2 separate regions of the Homo sapiens genome follow, and region 1 is linked to region 2. Evidence: promoter capture Hi-C in 16 types of primary human blood cells and fetal thymus (Javierre and others, 2016). All regions are on one chromosome and are shown on one strand. The core of a region is centred on a gene start or on the middle of the fragment in contact, and the rest is flanking DNA. Distances in the headings are between cores, read along the strand shown. Region 1 overlaps RNASE4 (ribonuclease A family member 4). Region 2 holds the start of RNASE8 (ribonuclease A family member 8).

What was found. Contacts are between HindIII fragments. The CHiCAGO score rates a contact against its expected background, and 5 or more counts as called.
Region 1: a contact is called between a fragment that was not itself captured here and the fragment with the promoter of RNASE8 in region 2, in 1 of 17 cell types (M2 macrophages). The highest score is 5.0, in M2 macrophages.

Annotation. Positions count from the first base shown.
Region 1 is chr14:20,697,559-20,702,914 of GRCh38, reverse strand. It overlaps RNASE4 (ribonuclease A family member 4), which reads right to left. Exons shown (of 2, transcript NM_002937.5): 2 at 1,699-3,560. The coding sequence starts at 3,543. The coding sequence ends at 3,100. EGILA (EGFR interacting lncRNA) reads left to right here. Exons shown (of 4, transcript NR_174964.1): 2 at 3,417-3,593; 3 at 3,786-3,879. Among named protein-coding and RNA genes, the nearest start is that of EGILA, 6.7 kb to the left of the region's middle. RefSeq lists a silencer at 3,099-3,264. The HindIII fragment of the contact is 1,171 bases long and covers 1,719-2,889 here.
Region 2 is chr14:21,053,924-21,059,326 of GRCh38, reverse strand. It overlaps RNASE8 (ribonuclease A family member 8), which reads right to left and starts at 1,505. Exons shown (of 1, transcript NM_138331.2): 1 at 872-1,505. The coding sequence starts at 1,434. The coding sequence ends at 970. It also overlaps a transcript of NDRG2 not described here. The HindIII fragment of the contact is 6,358 bases long and covers 1-3,586 here.

The DNA of each region.
Region 1 (5,356 bases), core at 1,055-3,554, 360 kb after region 2:
AGGAGGAATCCCGGGCTGCAGGCATTCCTTGGCCCAGTGGCCAGATTTCTAGCACTTGAAGCAAGATCCTGGGGGAGGAGGTCCTGGAGGAACACCTGGCCACTGCAGTTCAGGCATTTTGAAGTTCTTGTGTGCTGGAGATGTGGCTGGGGCTTCTCTCATAGTGGAGGCAAGTAATTGCAACTCAGAAATATGTTGCCACTTGGCTGCCTCTTCTCTATTATTGTACACCTTGAAGGCGAGGTTAATTAAGTCCTGTTGTGGGGTTTGAGGGCCAGAATCTAATTTTTGGAGCTTTGTTAATGTCAGGAGTGGATTGACTAATAAAATGCATATTGAGAATAAGACGGCCTTCTGGCCTCTCTGGGTCTAGGACAGTAAAGTGTCTAAGGGTTGTTGCCAAATGGGCCATGAACTGGGCTGGGTTTTTATATTTGATAAAAAAAAAAAAAAAAAAGCCTAAATGCTAACTCATTTGGGAGAGGTTGGATAAAGAAAAAGGAGCATTAACCTTGACTGTACCTTCAGCTCCAGCCACCTCTTTAAGAGGAAATTTTTGGGCAGGTTGGGGAGAGCTAGTCATGGAATGAAACTGTAAGCTGGACCAGGTGTGAGGAGGGGAGGTGATAAAAGGATTATAGGGTGGGGGAGCAGAGGGTGAGGAAGAATCAGGACCTGGCTTGGCCTGGCTGGTGAGCAGCAGCCTGGGGAGGAGGGAAGAGGTCAGATGGGTCTGTAGAAAAGGAGAATTCAAAGGACTCAGAGCTTGGGGTGGAGACTGAAGAAACAGACAGGAGAGAAAGAAGAAAGATTTGGGACAAGTCACATTGGGAGCAGAGACTAGGGAGGGACTGATGTGTAAAAGAATGCCTGGATGTCAGGCACCTCAGACTATTTCCCCATTTTTCGACAAAAATCATCTAGATCTTGTAAGATGGAGAAATCAAAAGTGCCGTTTTCTGGCCATTTGGAACCATTGTTGGGTTTGTATTAGGGCCAAACGGTATTGCAGAAGAAAATAAGGCATTTAGGTTTTAGGTCAGGTGTGAGTTGAAGAGGTTTTAAGTTCTTGAGAACACAGGCTAAGGGAGAAGAAGGGGGAATGCAGGGTGGAAGGTTGCCCACAGTGAAGAAGTAAGTTTAAAGAGAAAGGTAGAGACACAGCAAAGGGGGTGGTGAGCAGCCCTGGGCTATAACGTGGACGATCAGCCAAAGCAGGCATCCCGCGATTGACTTGCCATCAAGGGAATGTGGGTGAATGACCATGGCAGGTGTCCCCACAGTGATCAGACACCAATGGAATGTGGGTGAATGATCAGGGCAGGCATCCCCACAATGATCAGACGCCAAGGGAAGACTATCTTCCCGAGTCCGTGACTGGTGTCTGAGTTTTGGGTCCATGGATAAAATGCGTCTCCTTTGTCTCTACTAGAGAGGAAAGAGAACTGGAATTGGAAGGACAGGGAGATTGAAGGGTAGCAAGAGAGGCTGGAGAAGACAGTGAAAAGACCGCTTACCCAATTTGAAATGGGTGAGATGTTCCTTGGGCTGGTTGGTCTGAGGACCTGAGGTCATAGGTGGACCTCCTCATGGAGTGAAGGCGAGGACAGGGGACCAGTCTCCTGAAGGAGTCCCCCTGTTCTGGGTCTTCGGCACTAAATGCCACACGCGTCCATGTGAAGAGACCACCAAACAGGCTTTGTGTGAGCAATAAAGCTTTTTAATCACCTGGGTGCAGGCAGACTGAGTCCAAAAAAGGAGTCAGCAAAGGGAGATGGGGTGGGGCAGTTTTATAGGATTTGGGTTGGTAGTGGGAAATTACGGTCAAAGTGGGTTATTCTCTAGCGGGCAGGGGCGGGGGTCACAAGGTGCTCTGGTGGGGAGCTCCTGAGTCTAATTGTCCAGGAGAAGGAATGTCACAAGGCTAATTGATCAGTTAAGGTGGGGCAGGAACAAATCACAGTGGTGGAATGTCATCAGTTAAGGCAGGAATTGGTTATTTTCACTTCTTTTGTGGTTCTTCAGTTGCTTCAGGCCATCTGGATGTATACGTGCAGGCTTGGGCTCAGAGACCTGACAGCTCCCTAATTTGCTTCTAAATATTCTAAGGGAGAAGGAAGAGCTGTGAGAATTGTCTTTGAGAGGAATCATTCTCTCTGGAGTAAATGAGACAAATCTTCTGTGTTGTGGTCATGGATCTGATAGGCATTAGTCTTTGACCAGAGTTTATGAGGTTATTAAGGTGCATGCATGTTTATAAACTAAACAAGAATTTAAAAGTCAGAGAAAAAAAATAATACCATAGCACAGTCTTCTCAGGTACCTTCGGTTTAGGTCCTTTATTACAAGGAAAACATAAAAAATCTTTCAATCAGTAAGAGCACATAAGTCTTAATGATCTAGTACATTTTTTAGTACTTTGACTTACTAGGGTGATTCAAAGTTTCAGGAAAAAGAAAATTCCCAGTATCATTTTCTTAATCTTATTAAACCCAAACATAAGAATGCCAAAAAATACAGAGCTCACATTTTGCTGGCATACATTTCCAAATTTTTAATGCCTCCCTGACAGGTGAATTTTAAGGATAAAAAAAGCAGACACTTTCAAAACATTCCTTGTGATGAAGTAGAAAAAGCCCTGGATAAGTGGCCAGCTACACTGGATTTTTGTCTCAATTCTTCCATTAACTTTACAGTCTTCAGCAAATCCCTTAACTTTGAGCTTCTATATGTAGTGACATCATTATAAGTGCTGTGGTATTAAAATGTGATAAACATAGATGAAAGCATTTTGAAATGTTTGAAATACTACATAAATACACATAATAACTAAATTCCACAGGATAGGATCTGAGAGAGCTAAGCTGACCAGTATTATAAAAGGAAGCTTATTACAGAAAAGCCCAGCCTCATTCATTACAGGTTTATGTCTCCATATCTCTTTGGTGCAATGTATTTAATAGAATGAGTTATATAGAGAAAAAGAGTAGGAAATGAGCTGAGGAGACAGAGCCTGGGACAGCTCAAATGCATTACTCACTGCTATTTAAGGAGTAAGTGTAAGGTCAACCACTCGCGATAATCCCTACATGGTGGCATCTAACCGTCAAAGTGCACAGGCACCTGTGGGTTACCCTCACAGGCAATGACAACACGTCTAGTGCTCGCTATGGCCCGATATCTGCAGTTGGGTGCCCTGGAACTTCCTGTGTCCCTGCAATCTGTGACCTTCACTACACCCTCATGGCAGTTCATCTTGCCGTTCTTGCATTGGATATTGGTGGTGCTGCAGATACTACGAATGTTCCAGATATCTTCATGGATGAAGGTGTTGAAGCGCTTGCAGTGATACAAAGTCATCTTCCGTCTTTGCATCATCAAGTTGCAGTAGCGATCACTGCCACCTGTCTCCTCAGGGTGCACGTGTTGCCGCAGGAATCGCTGGTACATGCCATCCTGGCCATAGGAGGGCTGGACCAGCCCCAGCCCCAGCAGGGTCAGCAGCAAAAGCAGAAGCAATGAATGGGTCCTCTGCAGAGCCATCAGTATCTTAGAGGTGCCTAGAAAAGAAAGCAAGGGGCAGGAGAAATAAGGTAAGAACTGGGCACTGGAAAAAGGTGTTGAGAATAGCAAGCCGGCATCCTGACTCCATAGTCTCCTCTTTCCTCCTTCTTATATGCACCATCTCCCCACTCATCTCTGCTACTTTTCCCACCCTTCTTCCTCAAGAGTGAGTAGTTTGCAAACATGATCTTTTCTGAAAGCAAGACCTTTCTCATTTACAGAGAGAAGTTGCTGTGGCCAGTACAATGACACAGGGCAGGGACTGACTGCGTGGCTGCCAGGTTTGTGTGGACAGAGTATAAAAAGAGAGAAAAGGTGAACCTACATGAAACTGCAGTTGTGTGTCTCTTGGGGGAACTCCGTAGGTGTATGATCTTTGGGGAGTGTTTGGTTCCCGGGAGGCTCCAATTCCCGACAGTTTGGATAGACTCAGCATACGTCACAGAAAGTTTACAAACTACTTTTAATACCTTACATCTGGGAATCTAGGTGGAGGAAGAGGACAGAGGAATATTTAGGCTTTGCCTTTCCTCTCACATGACTATTGTTTTTCTTTGTCATTAATTTTATTATTTTTCTTTTCTTTTTTGTCATGTGGCTATTATTCTAATGTGATTTAAAATCTATTCTAATTCTAGAATAATATATGTTATACATTAATTTAAAATGTATTATTCTAATTCTAATGTAAAATCAGGTCCTTTTGGAAATCCTTTTAATTCTATTTTTTAAAAAAAAGCAAAACCAGAATACCCAGTTACAGTTCTTAGAAGACAGTTGATAATAGCTACTGTTTGAATGAACTAATAAGTGAAATGAGTAAGCTAATGAACAAATGCAATTAAATGGATAGAGTAAAGATGTTTCCCAGGCTTATGAAATTGACTAATAAGAAAAGCTAAGAAATGTTTAAAAAATAAATTTAAACAGCACAATATTCTCAAAAGAAAACTTGGATTGTGTCTTCTTCTCCTTGCTGTTTCTATGCATAACCTAAAAAATCTAGGCCATGGAGATACATTGCTTTGTCTTGCATCTATTCTTGATGTTCCTTCTGTCTTGTCAATAGTTGTTGGTAGCTGTCTGTCTTCTCTGGTTGCAGCATCATTGTGTTGTCACCTCTTGGCAGTGAAAAATAGGCATATATTTTATAGCATTAAAAAAAAAAGCCAGAGTGGCAACAAAAAAAGCATTGCCATGTAGTTTCAGAACATTCATTGCTTTCATTGACAGATTAAAGAAAGGAATCCAGGCCTATCTTAGTCTACACCCTGTGCTCTTTCCACTATCTACTGCCTCTCTCATCCCACACCCAAAATATTCAGGATATCAAAGACATTTATGCTCAGAATTGCTACTTCCCAGCAGCAGAGTTTAATCAAGACTGGAGGTGGACTCACTCACCAACTGACTAGCCAGATGCTGCCATCTGGCCGTCACTCCTGGAATTGATGTGAATTGTGAATCGGCTTGATTCTTGCAGTGTAGCAGGGCTGATTCACTACAGCAAAGAAAAATCATCCCTGATTCAATAGGAAGTGAGCAACGCAAATTAGCAAGGGCAATGTTTTGAGAGTCAGGCAGCCCAACTCTGTATGTGCAGTCCAAGGACTGACCCCAGTTGAACTCCTAGTTTGATGTATATGGGTACTATTGTCTTTTGATTTCAAATTCTGCTTCGTAATGGTGGATCACACTGTGTGAATGACTGAAATGGCTTCCAAACGACCTGTACCTTACTTTGTTCTGCTGAAAGGCTACCTTTTCATTATTGATAATGAAAGCAGTATCA
Region 2 (5,403 bases), core at 256-2,755:
GGCCGATTGCATATAAAACTGCTCCTTTACCACAGTTAGTCTTCAGCAATGATTAAGACCAGATCAGGACTCCTAGTAGGTCCTGATTCTGAAATTCCCCAAGGAGGGAAGTTCACTCCAGAACGCTGAGGGTCCTGCTCTGGGTCACGTCGATGAAACATGAACTCTGGTCTTGCGCACACACAAGGGGGTCAGGCCTCAGACCTGACTGGCATCCCAGGGCTCAGCCTGTCCTTCCTGTCACTCTACCCCTTCACATGAGAGGGGGCCACCAGAGAGCCCTCAAGGGGCTGGAGGACAGAATCAAGCCAGCTTCCCAGACTGTGCCTGCTCAGGGTGCTGCTCTCCCTCCGGCCTGCAAGGCAGGTGGAGCTGATGCCTCACAGAAGTAAGTGTTTCAGGGCCTTTTCAGGGCCTTGGAATTGGAGCTCCAAACCTCTCCACTTACCCCAAGACAGTAACACACACTCCATCAGCAACAGCAGAGTCTTTATTACAGCAAGATCAGATGCATTTCTTTGCCCAACACAGGGAACACAGCAGAGATTCCCCTTCCTTCCTTCCTTAGATAATTACCCCTGTCTGGGATCTCCCTGGACTGTCCAGCCACAGCCCTTCCAAGGATCTGACTTATTTACGTTTGTAATTTTATATTCTTTTTCTTTAAGAGGGTCTTTGGTGAGCCACAGGCCTCACCAAACCCAGATCCATCCTTGTGGGGATCCTGAGTGCTTGACTCTGGAAGGGCTGCAAAGTAAGCTACAATGAAAGGCTGAAGAGAATCTGCCCTCTTCTTTCATCGTTTGGAGCGTCTGTAAAACTCCCTAAGAAACCAAGAGTATGTGAGGTTGAGTGTGTGGGAGGGAAATGGCATTTGCAGTGGGGAGCAAGGATTAATAACGAACTGGAGGGAGGAAAAGCAGCAGCATACAGTCTGCAGAGTGTGAGGTGGAACGTGGGCACCAGGGCTTAGACAACTTTATCCAAGTGCACAGGAACAAGTGGGTACCCTGGGTCACCCTGTTGTGGAGGGTCACAGGCCACTATGTAAGGTGTGTTCAGGTGCTTCTCTTTGTACCTGCAGTTTGGGTACTTCCCTGAGGTGAGCTCACCCATGGTCAGGGACATGGGCCCGTGGCTCTGGTGGCAGTTTTTACAGCTATTCTTGCAGGCTATGTTGGGGGTCTGGCAGGTGATGGCCACACTGGAGAAGGGCTCGTGCAGGAAGGTGTTGAGGTCTTTGCACCGTTCTGTGTACTTATTGATGATGCTCATGGCTGAGTTGCATGCTTGAGGGCTGGGCTGCACATGCTGAGTTTTAAACCACTGAGATGATGTCATGTCCTTGGGCTTGGCTCTGACTAGGACCTCTGCCACCCACAGCCCCAGAAGCAGCAGCAGCAGGGGGCAGCATCCTGCTCTGGCCGGTGCCATCTCTCTTAAGGGAGACAGTGGAACAGAGTGAGGAGGTAGGTGGATGAATAGGTCATCATGGGGGAGTCTTGTTAGTCCTTCTAAGAATTTCATACCCTAAGCCAGTTATTGCAGGGCAATGTGCAGCCTAAGATATTGAACACCCCTGGCATTCTATTGTTTAGTACCAGCAGATAATGTGCCTTTTTGTGCCTCTAATAAACACTTACCTTCTTTACCTCTCACAATAGTTTTATGGGTATGATTACCTTCTCACATATATATATATATATATGAATAAAATGAGGCTCAGGAAAGTTAAGAAAATTCCTATTATCCCACAGCTAGAGCGTGTCAAATACAAGATTTTAACCAGGACCTCTCAAGTTCCCTAACTCCTATTCTTCCCACACTCCCAGGTATCTTTTCTGAGACTGTGAGAAATCACAAAGAGAAACTAAATCTTTTTTTTTTTTTGAGATGGAGTTTCGCTCTTGTCGCCCATGCTGGAGTGCAATGGCGCGATCTTGGCTCACTGCAACCTCTGCCTCCCAGGTTCAAGCAATTCTCCTGCCTCAGCCTCCCAAGTAGCTGGGATTACAGGCATGCACCACCACGCCTAGCTAATTTTTTCTATTTTTAGTAGAGACTGGGTTTCTCCATGTTGGTCAGGCTGGTCTTGAACTCCTGACCTCAGGTGATCCACCCACCTCAGCCTCCCAAAGTGCTGGGATTACAGGCGTGAGCCACCGCGCCCGGTTAAGAGAAACTAAATCTTGAAGAAAAACATGTGAAAGGTCAATACCCCACTCTGCTGGACTAGCTTAGGTGTCCCTGAAAGAGTTGTTATTAAGGTCGTGGAGTCAAATGCATTCCTCCCCATTCTGTGGCCCAGTTTCTCACTGAAGTTAGAAAAAATGATCACTCCTAGTGAAGGGATCGCAGCTCCAGCTGTCAAAGCAGCATGGCGAGTTGGGTTCTTTCCATGCCTGACATTTTGCCCTGCTGGAGAATGTCTTGGAAGGATAGAGGGTCAGGGCTGGAAGGGACCTTAGAGTTCATCTCAGTTGACTCCCTCATTTTAAAGATGAGGGAGCTTGAGTTCCTGCAAGGGCAAGTACTCTTTCCAAGGCCGCCGAGTGAGTGGCAGAGCTGGGGCTAAGAGCTTCCTGATGTTCAACCCATCCCTTTGGGCTGGCGCCAAGCTAAAAAGGAAAGAGGAAAGAGTTTCCCATAGGAGCAGAGCAGAGTGAGTGTGTCTCTGTTTGTGGTTTTAGGTGGTGTGTGCTCATTGCCTTAATTTCTTCAGACCCTTCTAAAAACATTTAAGAGAAAGTCTCCTCTTAGAGCAAGAAGGTGAATTCTTTTACACTTTCCCGTGTTTGTTTCTCCTCCTTTTCAATAACGACAACAGGCCTCAGGCTGAGTTTTCAGCTGAAAACAATATCTGGATAGAATTTTTAAAAGTTAGATGATATTCATTACATTTATTTTTACTTCTGTTTACAAAGTAACACTAGTATTCTTTGAAAGATGGCATTACTCAGTTTCATTGTAAAAGAATTATTTAAAATAAATGAGTAAATATATATTTAGCGTATTATTAAAATAATAGGGGTGGTAAGCAGATATTGTGAAAATTGTCAAGGGTTAAAGCAAATGACTGCAGTTGGGGAACTGGCTCTGCACTGCAGTTTCTCAGGTCGGCGATAGTGTGTTGGACTCCCCTCAGTCTCTCAACCTCTGGGATTTGTGTAACTTCTCCACCTTTGGGATAAAGTGCTCTCCAAAATGGCAAAATTTGCCGAGGCTCCTAGTATCTGCATTTCTGAATGTAAAAATTCTGAGATGTTTGTCATCTCAGGCAAACATGGTGGAGGAGCCTTGTTTGCCAGTAGAACTCACCTTTTCCACAGCAGGGATCCCTTCGTGCACTCCTCCCCACAAAGCAAACAAAACATTGATTTTTGAACCCAGGAAAACATTACCCAGAAAGCAGTTGACTTGGGCAGCAGGGAACAAATCTTTCCCTCCCTCTGCACTACTCCCTCCCACCACCCTGTCCCAGGAAGTCATTTCTCTCTTGCAGGCCCTCAGCTGAGCCTCTCCCATTGGGATGGAAGGGTTACCAAGTGATTATTCATTAACGGTTACAGACCCAAGCTGCCAAGCTTTGAAATGAGAGGGTGGGGATGGTAGCAGGAGCCCAGGGCTGGCCTAAACGTTTACTGCCAACCAAGATGACTGACCAGAGACTTTGCAAGCTCTGATTCCAAATACGTTGCAAACATGCTTTCCCTGAAGTAGGTACTGGCCCATGCAGCTGGCCAGCCTCACTCAGGGAGGCCTGGGAATGGGGTTCCTTTGATTGTGTGTTTTGATCCTAGTCATTCATCATGAGTTTTCCCCACTGCCACAGCCTCAGGGCTGTTTTATCCATTAAGCACTTGAGGCTCAGTGCTTAGAATCTGGGAGGTTTCTAAGGGCCTACAACATTTGAGACTGGGAAAAATATATTGGCTCCAATACAGGAAAAGTCAAATATAGAATCAAATAAAAAATATTTACTTACCTGCTACTAAAGTAGCATGAAGTTGATTTCACTTATTTTGAAATTTGGGACACATAAAAATCTCACTACATTGGAAAACAATCTTTGGTTAGTTTTCTAATTTTGTAGGAATTCCTAAGTACCTGGAAACCTTGAATGCAGAAGGAACAGTGCCAGTCACAACTTACTTGCAGTCAAATAATTTCAAAAGTAAAACTTTAAAAATCTTTTCAGATACATTTCTGCAGAAACAATATTGAATGAGGAATATATATCTTACATATTCAAAGTAGTGTGGCGAGTGGTAAAATGCTTAGGAGTATGGTAGGATAGAGTATACTATTTACTACCTACTAAAGGCAGCCAGGATAACATACACCGCATTGCTTATGGTTCAGGTCAGCACAGGGCTGTACAGCAGCAGCAGGAGGAAAGAGATGCTACCAAGCATCATTTAATTAGCATCTAAAATGTGCTCGGTACAGTTCTAGGTTCTTGGTGGAAAGTAAAGAACCTCATTTTAAAAGGTGCTTCACGAGCCAAAGCATTGTGCTTTGTGTACAACTTTATATATAAACTGTATTGTGTGTTCCACAATATTATCCCAATTTTACAGAAAAGGAAACTAAGGTTCTGGCAGGTTAAGATCCACAGATTTAGTAAGTGGCAGGGCCGGGATTTGAAATTCGGTTCTGTTTGGCTCCAAAGTTCATGTTATCTTTCCTTGCCACACTGCTTTCCTGTTTATTGATAATTCATTAACAGTTACAGACCCAAGCTGCCAGCCTTTGAAGTGACAGAGTGGGGATGGCAGCAGGAGCCCAGGGCTGGCCTAAACATTTCCTCCTCTTGTGGGCTAAGAGTCACCTTGTGTGCACTGGTATGGAGATGAGCCAGTCTTGGCTCTGATTGGTCAATGCCTGTTCCCACCAGATCACAAGAGAAGAAGACTGAATGCCATCTCTAATGTCTACTATGTTCTTGACACTGAACTCAGCAGTGTGTGTGTGTGTGTGTGTGTGTGTGTATTATCTCTTTTGTGATCAATCTATCTAAAAACATCTCCTTACTTATCTTGCAGCATCCCCATGAGATAGAAATATTTATGCTTATTTTGTAGGTAAGGAAACAATGTCTGTGTGTGTGGGAGTTGAGTAACTTGCCCACAGCCATACAGGAGTGAGTGACAGAGCCACTTCGATCTGATCCTCAAATTTACACTCTGTACACTGTGTCAGGCCGTGCTGCAGCTTTGTTTCATTTCAGAGCCAATTTTTACTGATCTTGTTTTTATATGGGGTTTCTGGTCACCCCTGAGAGTACAACTCAGACTACAATCAAAGTTAAAATAGTCTAGTGGTAAGAATACTGAACCAGACATGAATAGCCCTGAATTCTGGTCCCACCTCTTTCACTAATTAGCTGCATGACCTTGGGCA